Regions from separate parts of the Homo sapiens genome. Here region 1 is linked to region 2. Evidence: promoter capture Hi-C in 16 types of primary human blood cells and fetal thymus (Javierre and others, 2016). All regions are on one chromosome and are shown on one strand. Each heading gives the region's core, a stretch centred on a gene start or on the middle of the fragment in contact. The rest is flanking DNA. Distances are from core to core; before and after follow the strand shown. Region 1 overlaps SMARCA2 (SWI/SNF related BAF chromatin remodeling complex subunit ATPase 2). Region 2 holds the start of VLDLR (very low density lipoprotein receptor).

Region 1 (4,764 bases), core at 319-2,818, 500 kb after region 2:
AATGGCAAGCAGCTTGTCCTCTCCAGTGTCTTGAGAGTATCTGCGGCTTTAGCAGTGCTGAATTATTGCCTAACAGTGATCAGCTGAGGGTCTCTTGCTTGGGTGTTCCCCAGTAATCTGCCTTTTAATTAGTTCTTCAAGGACAGAGGGGATGTCTATTTCTGATGGGTATCTTTAACCTCCCTAAATAGAGAATATTGTAATCTTTGATTATGCTGACCAGTGTGAGTTAAGAAATCTAGAATTTATGAATGCCCTACATTGACCATGCTGTTAAGTCTTTCTTACTACCATTCCTCTCTGAAATAGCTTTACTTGGGAAGGGTGGTTCATTTCGGGGACGGAGGGAGAAAGGGAAGTGCATATTCCAGTTTAGTAGTTATTCCCACAGCTACCTGAATTTTCCTGAGAAAGAAAATTTTATTGTGGATCATTATATACAATCAATGTTCCCAGAAAAAAGCCACACACACAAAACCCCAAAATAACATAAGCCTCTCCAAACAGGTGGAGTTCCATTCTGTCTAGGCTAAAAAGGTGGAGATTGCAAACCCTGTGGATCATATTTGGCCCACAGTTGTGTTTTGTTTGGCATGCAGTGTTATATAATAACTTAAAAAGTTGGATTTAGTTGCAGTGTTTTAAAATCTAGAGATCACATATAAACACCTAGACTTCAAGCTCCCCTTGAAAATTTGTCATTTCTGGCGACATAGGTCTCACATTTCTACCTTGCAGCTCTGTCCCCCCATAGACAAAGCATCTCCAGTACACCTACCTCTGCCCACTTGCTTCACACATGCAAATTACTCATGTAAGATCTGATGGCACTCAAATTTGGGACCTCTAACTTTAGGGTTCTGCAGCATTCAACCACCAAAGTTGTGGTTTATATTTACTCTCTCTGTAATCAGTCTTTGATGAAGATGAAAATGATTGAAGATACTGGAGGGAAATCCAACTGATTTTGATCCTTAAATGAAGGCTACACCTTTATGCACACCTTGAAGGTTCCCATTCATTTAAGCGGGCTCTCGTCAACAATCTGAAAAGGCACACCTGTGTGTTGTTTTAGCTGTTGTCCACCTATCTCCCTAAGGAGCATGTTGCTTTGATCCTGTAAGGGCACTGTTGTAAGTTCCAATGCCTATAGGAGCCAGGTAGGCTTCCTGAATGACACTGGCCTGGGATTAGAAACGAACTGGGAACAGGAGGGCGTCTATGGTAAGCTGTAGACCGCGAGGCCTGTCCAGAGAGTGCAGCTGCTACTCAGCCCTGGCCAACTGTTTCCACACAAAGATGTGGGCCTGGTACTGCCCGATCTCATTTTTCAAGAGAAGCCAGAAATCAGGATTCTTTTTTATGTTGGCAATGAATGGGAAATTTTAAAAAACGCTGCGTGGGCCAAACAAAATATGTCTGCAGGCTAACTCCAGCCAGTTTGCAGCCTCTGAACTGAAGGAAAGGCATAGGCTTTACGTATGAAGTTCTGCCAGGCACGCAGGCTGCAGACATTCTGCTTAACAGAAAAAGGGGCAGAGGTATAAAGCATTTGTGTTCATGATTTTCTGTAACATTACCATAAAAAGGTCAAATTCTTCTTCTCGTCGAGCAATCATTTGGTTCAGAGTCTCATCGTCCGGTACTTCATCTTCTTCCTGGGGTTAAAAACAGAGTGATTTTAACCAGTGGACAGCTGGGGCAAGGTACAAACAAGTAAGTGATCTGTCCTCCAGACCAGAGGGGTCCCATTTCTCAAGGCAGAAAGAAAAGGGAAGGGGTTGCTGGATTTAGTCCTTGACGTTACTATTTTACAAGCTATTAAAACCATCTTCCCAGAGCAAAATCCGTTCAGGGAGGAAACTGTGGTCCACTATAAGAAATATGAGTTCTCCTGGATGTGTATCTTGATTCTGTTACTTTTACAACAAGTTACTTAATGTCTCCTCGCTTCAGTGACCTCATTGGTCATATGGGTATGACATCTATTTCACATGGGGATGTAAGATTTTAATAAGGACATCCATATGAAAAAGTACCTAACATTAATTCTTTTAATTCCATTTACCTTATGCCAAATATAAATGCTTATTTTCAAATCCTTACAAAAGACATAAGTATGTGAAACCTTGTTACTAGGCACTAAGACAATAAAAATCACATATATGTGCCAAATATATAGCCTTTGAAGTGTGCTTAATATATTTCTATGGGTATTATTGTTAATGATTGGAGCTATGGATGGGATAACTAAAAAGGTATCAGTAACAAAAAAAACCTCAAAATTATACTTAATTAAAATAATTTAAATGAAGCAGAGAAAGCAATTACATATGGGCTAAAATTTTCATTTTATATTACGTCAAACAAAGGTACATTATCTCTCTGCTAATTCCTCAGAAACCAACAGTTCTCAGGATTTTTAGCAATGTTATAGGATGACTTCCACACTTAAAAAATGATTCTAAAAGTTCGGCATATGCTTCAGGATTTATCTTCCCAAATTATTTTTATCATATGCTGAGTGGGCTTGTTAGAAATCAAACGGGGAATTTCAGTGTATCAGTCGAGGGAAGAAAGAGGAAAACACAGAACTTCAGACATCCAATTTCACAAACTGTATATTCAAAAAGAGGCAACTTGTTTTAGAGAAAGAGTATGAGTGTACTAGCGGCTCAAATGAGATGACTGTGTCGGCTCCCAAGATAACGTCTTTCGCACTGCAGGAACTTAATAAGTGTTAGAAATGAATGCAATCCAATAAAGTAAAAAAATCTACAATTCAAGATAATAATTATTTCTGAAAAACCTTCTATTCTAGTTTGCCTCCAGATTGATTAAAGTCAATTTGTCTAAATATTACATTTCATCTGACAAGGACACAGACTAGCTGGGAGTGGGTTCAGACTTCACAGTACAAAATATCTGGTAATGTCTCCTCTGGTGAACAGATGTCCCGCTTCGCCTACTTTCTTCCTAGAACCACACATTACCCTCTCATCACCTGGACCATGAGGGGCTCAGACAACCCCATGCCCAAGATGAAAAGATTCTCTTGTAAAGTGCCTGTTTATGACCTTCATGGAAAACCAAATAGCTGGAAGTGCACAATGCATCTTCCTGGGTTCTCTGCCCCAGCACTTCATGGTCGCATCAACCATGGTGATGCCAGCCTATGTTGTCCTGATCTTTCAGAACCAGAGTCTTTGACTGCAGTCTCTCAGTGTTTTCAAACATCTTTACATCAGGACACAAGCCCCCCTGAAAACGGCAACATTTTTCTGACACACTGGCAGCCAAGAAGGGACAGGAGCCTCAGCAAGGCTGCTCACAGCTAGCCTTGATGGCAGGACAACTGGGAGGGGAGTGCACGTCAGGCCCCACCTGGCAGCCCTCGGGCCCAGGGGAGATCAGCAACTCCCTGCGGCTTAGGAAGGCTGGAAAACTCCAGGCTTCCTTGATTCTCAACCAGATCAGGTACTATTTTCACAAGGCCTACACAAAACAAATAAGCAAAAATGTAGTGGAGACGACTGGCTGAGTGTCAGCTCTGCTCATATCTGCTTTGTCACAGGATAGATCATTCGCCATATTGTTTTTTTGGAAATGTCCAAGTGTATAAACAACAAAAAAATCACCTGACAATTTGACTCCATATCTGTATCAAATATTCAATTTCTAGAATCAGAAACTATAAATAATTTGAGATAAAAATTTTTCAAATGTGTGTGGATAGTGAGTGCATGTGCATATGTATTTTTTATCATTTTCATGAAACTCAGTGGATAGCTAATCAAAAATATAAGACGGACAAATTAGGAGGCATAATACAAAAGTGCTCTTCAATTTGCAAATGGGTTCATTTCAGGATACCTTTAAATATCAAGCTTTACTTCACATTTAGATTCATTTTAGAAAAAAAAAATATACAGACAGTCTCTGGCTTAACAACGGCTGGACTTAGGATTTTTCGACTTTATAATGGTGCAGAAGGGATGCACATTCAGTACTCCACTAGACTTAAGATGGGGCCATGTCCTGATATTTTCAATTTATGATGGGTTTGTCGGGATGTAACACCATTGTAAGTTGAGGAGTATTTGTTTATAAGACTTTTAAAAGACTCAGGTTCATAATTTATAGAAGAATGCAAAAACACATATCCTATTTAAGGCAAAAATCAAATTATATCTAATATATGCAATGAAAACAGTATTCCACATGAATATGTAAGGTAGACTTACTCTTCAATTTGTAAGTATGGGCACACACAAAAAATATGTTCAGCCAGTTTTATGATAAGGACTTCTGCTGATATTCTGTAGTTTGCTACACTATATACATACGTTTAAAAATCTACTTCAAATCCATTTTGGAATGAATATTTATAAAATTACTAACGTTGGCAATCTAAAAATAATACAAATGACAACTCAACATTCCCCTAATAAAAACCTAATCAAAGCATTCTTCATACAACCCTGACAAATAAAGGCTGTTTAACCAGAATTTTTCCCAACCTTCAGACAGCTCTTAAAGAAAAATTTAAAGTAGAGGTTAAGGTCATGCTTGCCAAGAGCAAGTATAGCTAAATGTGCGGAAGATGGCTGTGAAGGTTTGTCCTACAAACATGTTGAAGCTCTGTGATCCCTGATCAAAAGGCAAAAGAGAGAGAGGGCTCTGGAGGATGAGAGAAAGAGGACCCCTTCCATTTATGTCTTGTCTCGTCCGGCTGATTTTGTCCCTAAAGTATCCTCTGCAGTT
Region 2 (4,417 bases), core at 435-2,934:
GCCCCTGAAGCCACCCGGCGACGGGAGCCAGGGACTCTGGAACGGGTGTTAAGGGCCTGGGCGGCTTTCAGTCCCAATTCCCTGCAGCTGGCAAGCAAGCCCCTCGGCGTCACATCTGAAGATCACTTCGGGGACGCGCTAGGATTCCGACTGAGTCCTCTCAGAAAGGCTTCCTGTCGCCTGTCCAGGAAAGTTACGAGGCCCCAAGTGGGAACGTGGCTGACGACCAGGCGGGGCCCCCAGGCCCCCGCGGCAGAGTCTGGGGACCCGACAGTAGTCACCGCCGCCCTTCCCAACAAGACAGGGCCACACGCTCGCTCTCGCGCTGCTCCTTTGAGCTATTGTGTAGAATGAAGGCTAATTACAGTCACTAGCCTAGGACTCAATTCCTCTCGAGGAAACGTCACCGGGAAGGAGGGTCAGCAAACTAACCTGATTAAGTCTCCCCTCCACTCCCCCTCCGCGTTCAGCTACACGGGAGACCCGAGCGGTTTCCAAACGCCGCCCGAGGCGGGGAAAAGGGAGAGGAGAAGCGCCCAGAGCAGAGTCCTGCGTAAAGCCCCGCCGCTCCCCTACCCCGCACGCCGGAGAGGCGGCCCCGCGCCGGGGGAGTCGCAGTCCGGGTGCCCTCGGCTCCGCGGAGCCTCCCGGCCGCCGCCCACCGAACGTGCGCCAGCTCGCGGCCGCCGGAAGACTCTGAAGCCCGGCCGGCCCCTGGCGCTCCGCGTCCCCGGAGGCGCTCACCTTCTCCCCCCGTCCGCTCCCGCACTCCCCGGGGTTCGAGGGTGCGCCCGAGGCTGCCGCACACGTCTTGGCCCTCTGCCTCCTTCCCAACACTGCGCCTGGCAGAGGAGGCAGAACCATTGTTCAATGCTCAGAAGCCCACGCACCTCGGCGCCCGTCAAGAGGGCGAGAAACGAGGCGAAGCAGCGGCTCTGGGGGAGGCGGAGTGAGGGGCAGAAGACTAGTTCAGGCGAGGCGTCGGGGCACCCCGAACCCCGCTGTTCCCCAAGCCCGGCTCCCTTTAGCCTCGGCGCTGACAGCTCAGAGGCGCCACCACGGAGGGGAGGGAGGGAAGGCGAGGAGAACCGAGAGGCGCCTCCTAGGAGGCGGGTGGGCAAACGGAGACCTACGCCTCGGGGTCTCCCGGTGCCCCGGCTGGGTCCCGCCCGCCGGCGGAGGGGCGCGTCCTCACTCACCGGTTCCGGTGGCGCCGCTCTCCCGGGGCGCCCAGCACAGCGCGAGCAGCAGCCAGAGCGCCCAGAGCGCGGACGTGCCCATGGTGCCCGCCTGGATGGTGCCGCCGCCGCCGCCGCCGCCGCCGTTCGCTCCGCACGACAAGTTACCAGTCCTTCCGAAAGGAGGAAGAAGGTGGGGGCGGGGAGGGGAAAGGGGGAGAAGGAGGGGAAGGAGTTGGCGGGGGAAGGGAGCGGGGAAGAAGAGGGCACCCCCTCCCCTACAACTTGCACAGTCTCCTCCCCACCCACCCAGCCACCTCCCCGGGCTGCAGCAGCAGTGCAAGCCGAGCCTGCGGGCAGAAAATAATGCAGGCGCTGCAGAGGAGGGGAGGCAAGGGGAGAGGAGGGAAGGGAGAGGGGGTGGGGAGCCGAGAGCAGAAGAGAGCACAGAACGGAGAGGAGCCGGTAGCGGAGCACCCGCACCGGCGGCGGCCGGAGAGCGGGGTGAGCAGCGGGGAGGGGGCCGGAGGGGGCGTGGTCAACGGGAGGCGCGGCGGGCGGGCGGGAGCGCGGCGGCTTCGGCCCTCCTTTCCCTCGACGCGCTCCTCTTGCACGCGCCGGGCAGCCGGGTGCCCGCGCGGGGAGCGTGCGAGTGTGAGCGTGCGTGAGTGACCGCGGTCGTGGTCGTGGCTGCCGCCGCCGCCACCCGGACCGCTCTAGGGGCCCGGCTGCTCCGCGCGTTCGCCTGGGGCTCACGGGGGCCCGGGGCGACCGCTGGTTGGCTCGCGCGCCGCCCTCGCCTCCAATCCCGGGTGCCTGTCCTAATTTCCTGATCCAGGGAACCTGCCGCCGCAGCGGCTGTGCGCTCCCTACAGTCATTACTGTACCCTCCCGGCAGCCTCCGGCAGAACACGCAGCAGCAGCAGCAGTTAGCGCTGATGCAACTATCGTTGCTGTTGCCACCGCCTCCCCACTGACGGGGCGTGCACCTGGGGGGTACTTGCAGTTTCCAGGGGCAACAAGCATCTCTCTACCACCCTCTCCTGCGCCCCTGAGAGAGGCTGGTAGGTAGCATCTTCTTCGGGCCTCCTCTATCCACTCAGAAAGTGATGAAGCGGAGGGGCTCCAAACGTTTGGGCTGCTCAAAAGTGGGGTTTGGGATGCCGGTCTCAATCGCACGCTGAGATGCCGTTTTGCCGAAAACTAAATGTGTCTTTAAGTGAGAGAGTGTGTATGTTTGAAAGAGAGTGCGCGCGGTTGTGGCTGGTCCTCTGTAATAGAACAAGACTGAAATAACCCAGCCTGGGATGAGGAGAAGGGAAATTGCTAGCGCAGCTTTGCATTTGCTCATCAACGATTATAGTTAATTGCTAATTGCACAAAATGATAGTTTGAGGGCCTGTAATTAAAAGCTTAACCTTTTCTTGTTTGGAAGAGAGGGGCCCCATACGTTTATTCCTCTTGATATACTTTGTAACATTCAATTACAAGAATCGAGGAAAGAATAAAGGAAGCAAAGACAAGACTCCTAGAAAGGGTTGGTTCTTCTTTTGTGCCTGACAGTACCTGAGTCTATAATTTGCTTTTTGTGTACTTCAGTTTTCTTGCACACTTAGCCCTGGTTGAGGTGCATTGTCTGCTGTGGTCTGTTGAGCATCTAACCAGAGTGGGAGGGCACATCGAGCGATTTCACTTTCTTAAATAAAAGGTTTTTGGTATTTTGAAAAAGTTGTTTTTATCTTAATTCAAACTTGGAAGGTTTCAATAATATCATATTCTGACTCTATTCTGTTGGTGATCTGAAGAGCAGCGGGCACTGCCTCACTGTCTTCTCCTTGCCCTGGTTCTCCTGGAAATTTGTCAAGGCTAGCAATCAGAGGAGATGTTTATTAGGAACTTACTATATCCAGGAGACACACAGGAGAGGAAAATTCCAGTCAGGATAGGTTTCTGTGGGCCAAAGATATCCTGATTGTGACTGCTAAGCATGAAAGGGCTTAACTCTACGTATGGATGGTATCTTGCACTATAGCTCATTTTGAATGCTATTTTGCCCACCCTGTGGTTACATAGTTGATACAAACTGCAGCAGCCACACAGGTTGCATGTGAAACAACTGAAATTTGTTTGTATGACATTTAGTAGTGAAGATGCATGCCGGTGTTATTCACCTAATGGCATTGAGATGTGATAGGAAAACCTTAGTGCATGATGTCTTTCATATTCTCAGGGTTCTGAAATGCCATCTGATGAGCTACTGCTTTACAGAAGAGGAAAGGAGTAGAAGGGATGGGTGGAATCAATACAAAAAGAGGCAGCATTAATAAACAGTCATATGACTTGTTTTTAATACTTTACTCAGAGATACAGGTATACTACAAGCTATACATTGATATGGTATAATAAGACTTAACTTTGAAAAACGTGTGTGAGTACTTTCTAATTCTCCAAGGGATATAAATAAACTTTCAGTGAACTTAGCTGCAGCTCTGTATTCAATCCTGTAGCTTTTTTGTTGACTCAAAAGAAAGCATAACTTTTGGCTCCATCTCTGATTGACTGTGTAACTTGGGAAAAATCACTGTGCCTCTCTGTGTCTGCCTTTTGGCCTGTAAACTGAAAAGAAAGCCAAGCCACATTATATCAAAGTGCTCCGTGGCCTCAAGGACCAGCTCTCTGCAAGGTGTTGTTTATTAGAAGAAAAAGGTTGTATGGAGAAATTCATTGGATTATGATAGAAAGTAGCTAATAACTAAAAAGATAAATTGATGATAAGTGGATATTGAAGTGGTTGAACTAACAGAGCTAATTGATCATAAGTGGAGACTGAAATGGTTGAACTAACTGGGTTCAGAGAAGTTGACACTGCTGGATTCCCGACGCCGTCAGGTAAATGCAGAGGCAATCCCATTCACTCCTACAATCCACCACATTCATTTATTTGTTGAAGCAACACATAGTGAGCATCCCTGGCTAACGGGCACTGTGCAAAGTAGTGGGCATACAGAAGTGCTTATCTAGGAAGCTCAGCATCTGGTAGGGGAGGCAGGCAAGTGGGCAACTGTAGTACCCTATGTATAGCACTCTGATTAAGAGATGCTTAAAGTGCTAGAAGATTGCAAGGAAGAAGCAGCTATTCTGGCTGCAGGATGAAGGTATCAGAAAAGGCTTCACAGAGCGTTTGTCTCTGAGCTTTTTTCATAATTTTTACCCGGTGATCTGAATTCTCCCTACTTCTG

The links. Contacts are between HindIII fragments. The CHiCAGO score rates a contact against its expected background, and 5 or more counts as called.
Region 1: a contact is called between a fragment that was not itself captured here and the fragment with the promoter of VLDLR in region 2, in 1 of 17 cell types (megakaryocytes). The highest score is 5.3, in megakaryocytes.

Annotation. Positions count from the first base shown.
Region 1 is chr9:2,116,352-2,121,115 of GRCh38, reverse strand. SMARCA2 (SWI/SNF related BAF chromatin remodeling complex subunit ATPase 2) reads right to left here. Exons shown (of 34, transcript NM_003070.5): 26 at 1,581-1,658. Among named protein-coding and RNA genes, the nearest start is that of SMARCA2, 100 kb to the right of the region's middle. The HindIII fragment of the contact is 4,642 bases long and covers 1-3,889 here.
Region 2 is chr9:2,619,054-2,623,470 of GRCh38, reverse strand. It overlaps VLDLR (very low density lipoprotein receptor), which reads right to left and starts at 1,684. Exons shown (of 19, transcript NM_003383.5): 1 at 1,200-1,684. The coding sequence starts at 1,281. It overlaps VLDLR-AS1 (VLDLR antisense RNA 1), which reads left to right and starts at 1,098. Exons shown (of 4, transcript NR_015375.2): 1 at 1,098-1,371. RefSeq lists silencers at 550-639, 650-739, 1,010-1,279, 1,890-1,969 and an enhancer at 1,848-2,142. The HindIII fragment of the contact is 5,619 bases long and covers 1-2,592 here.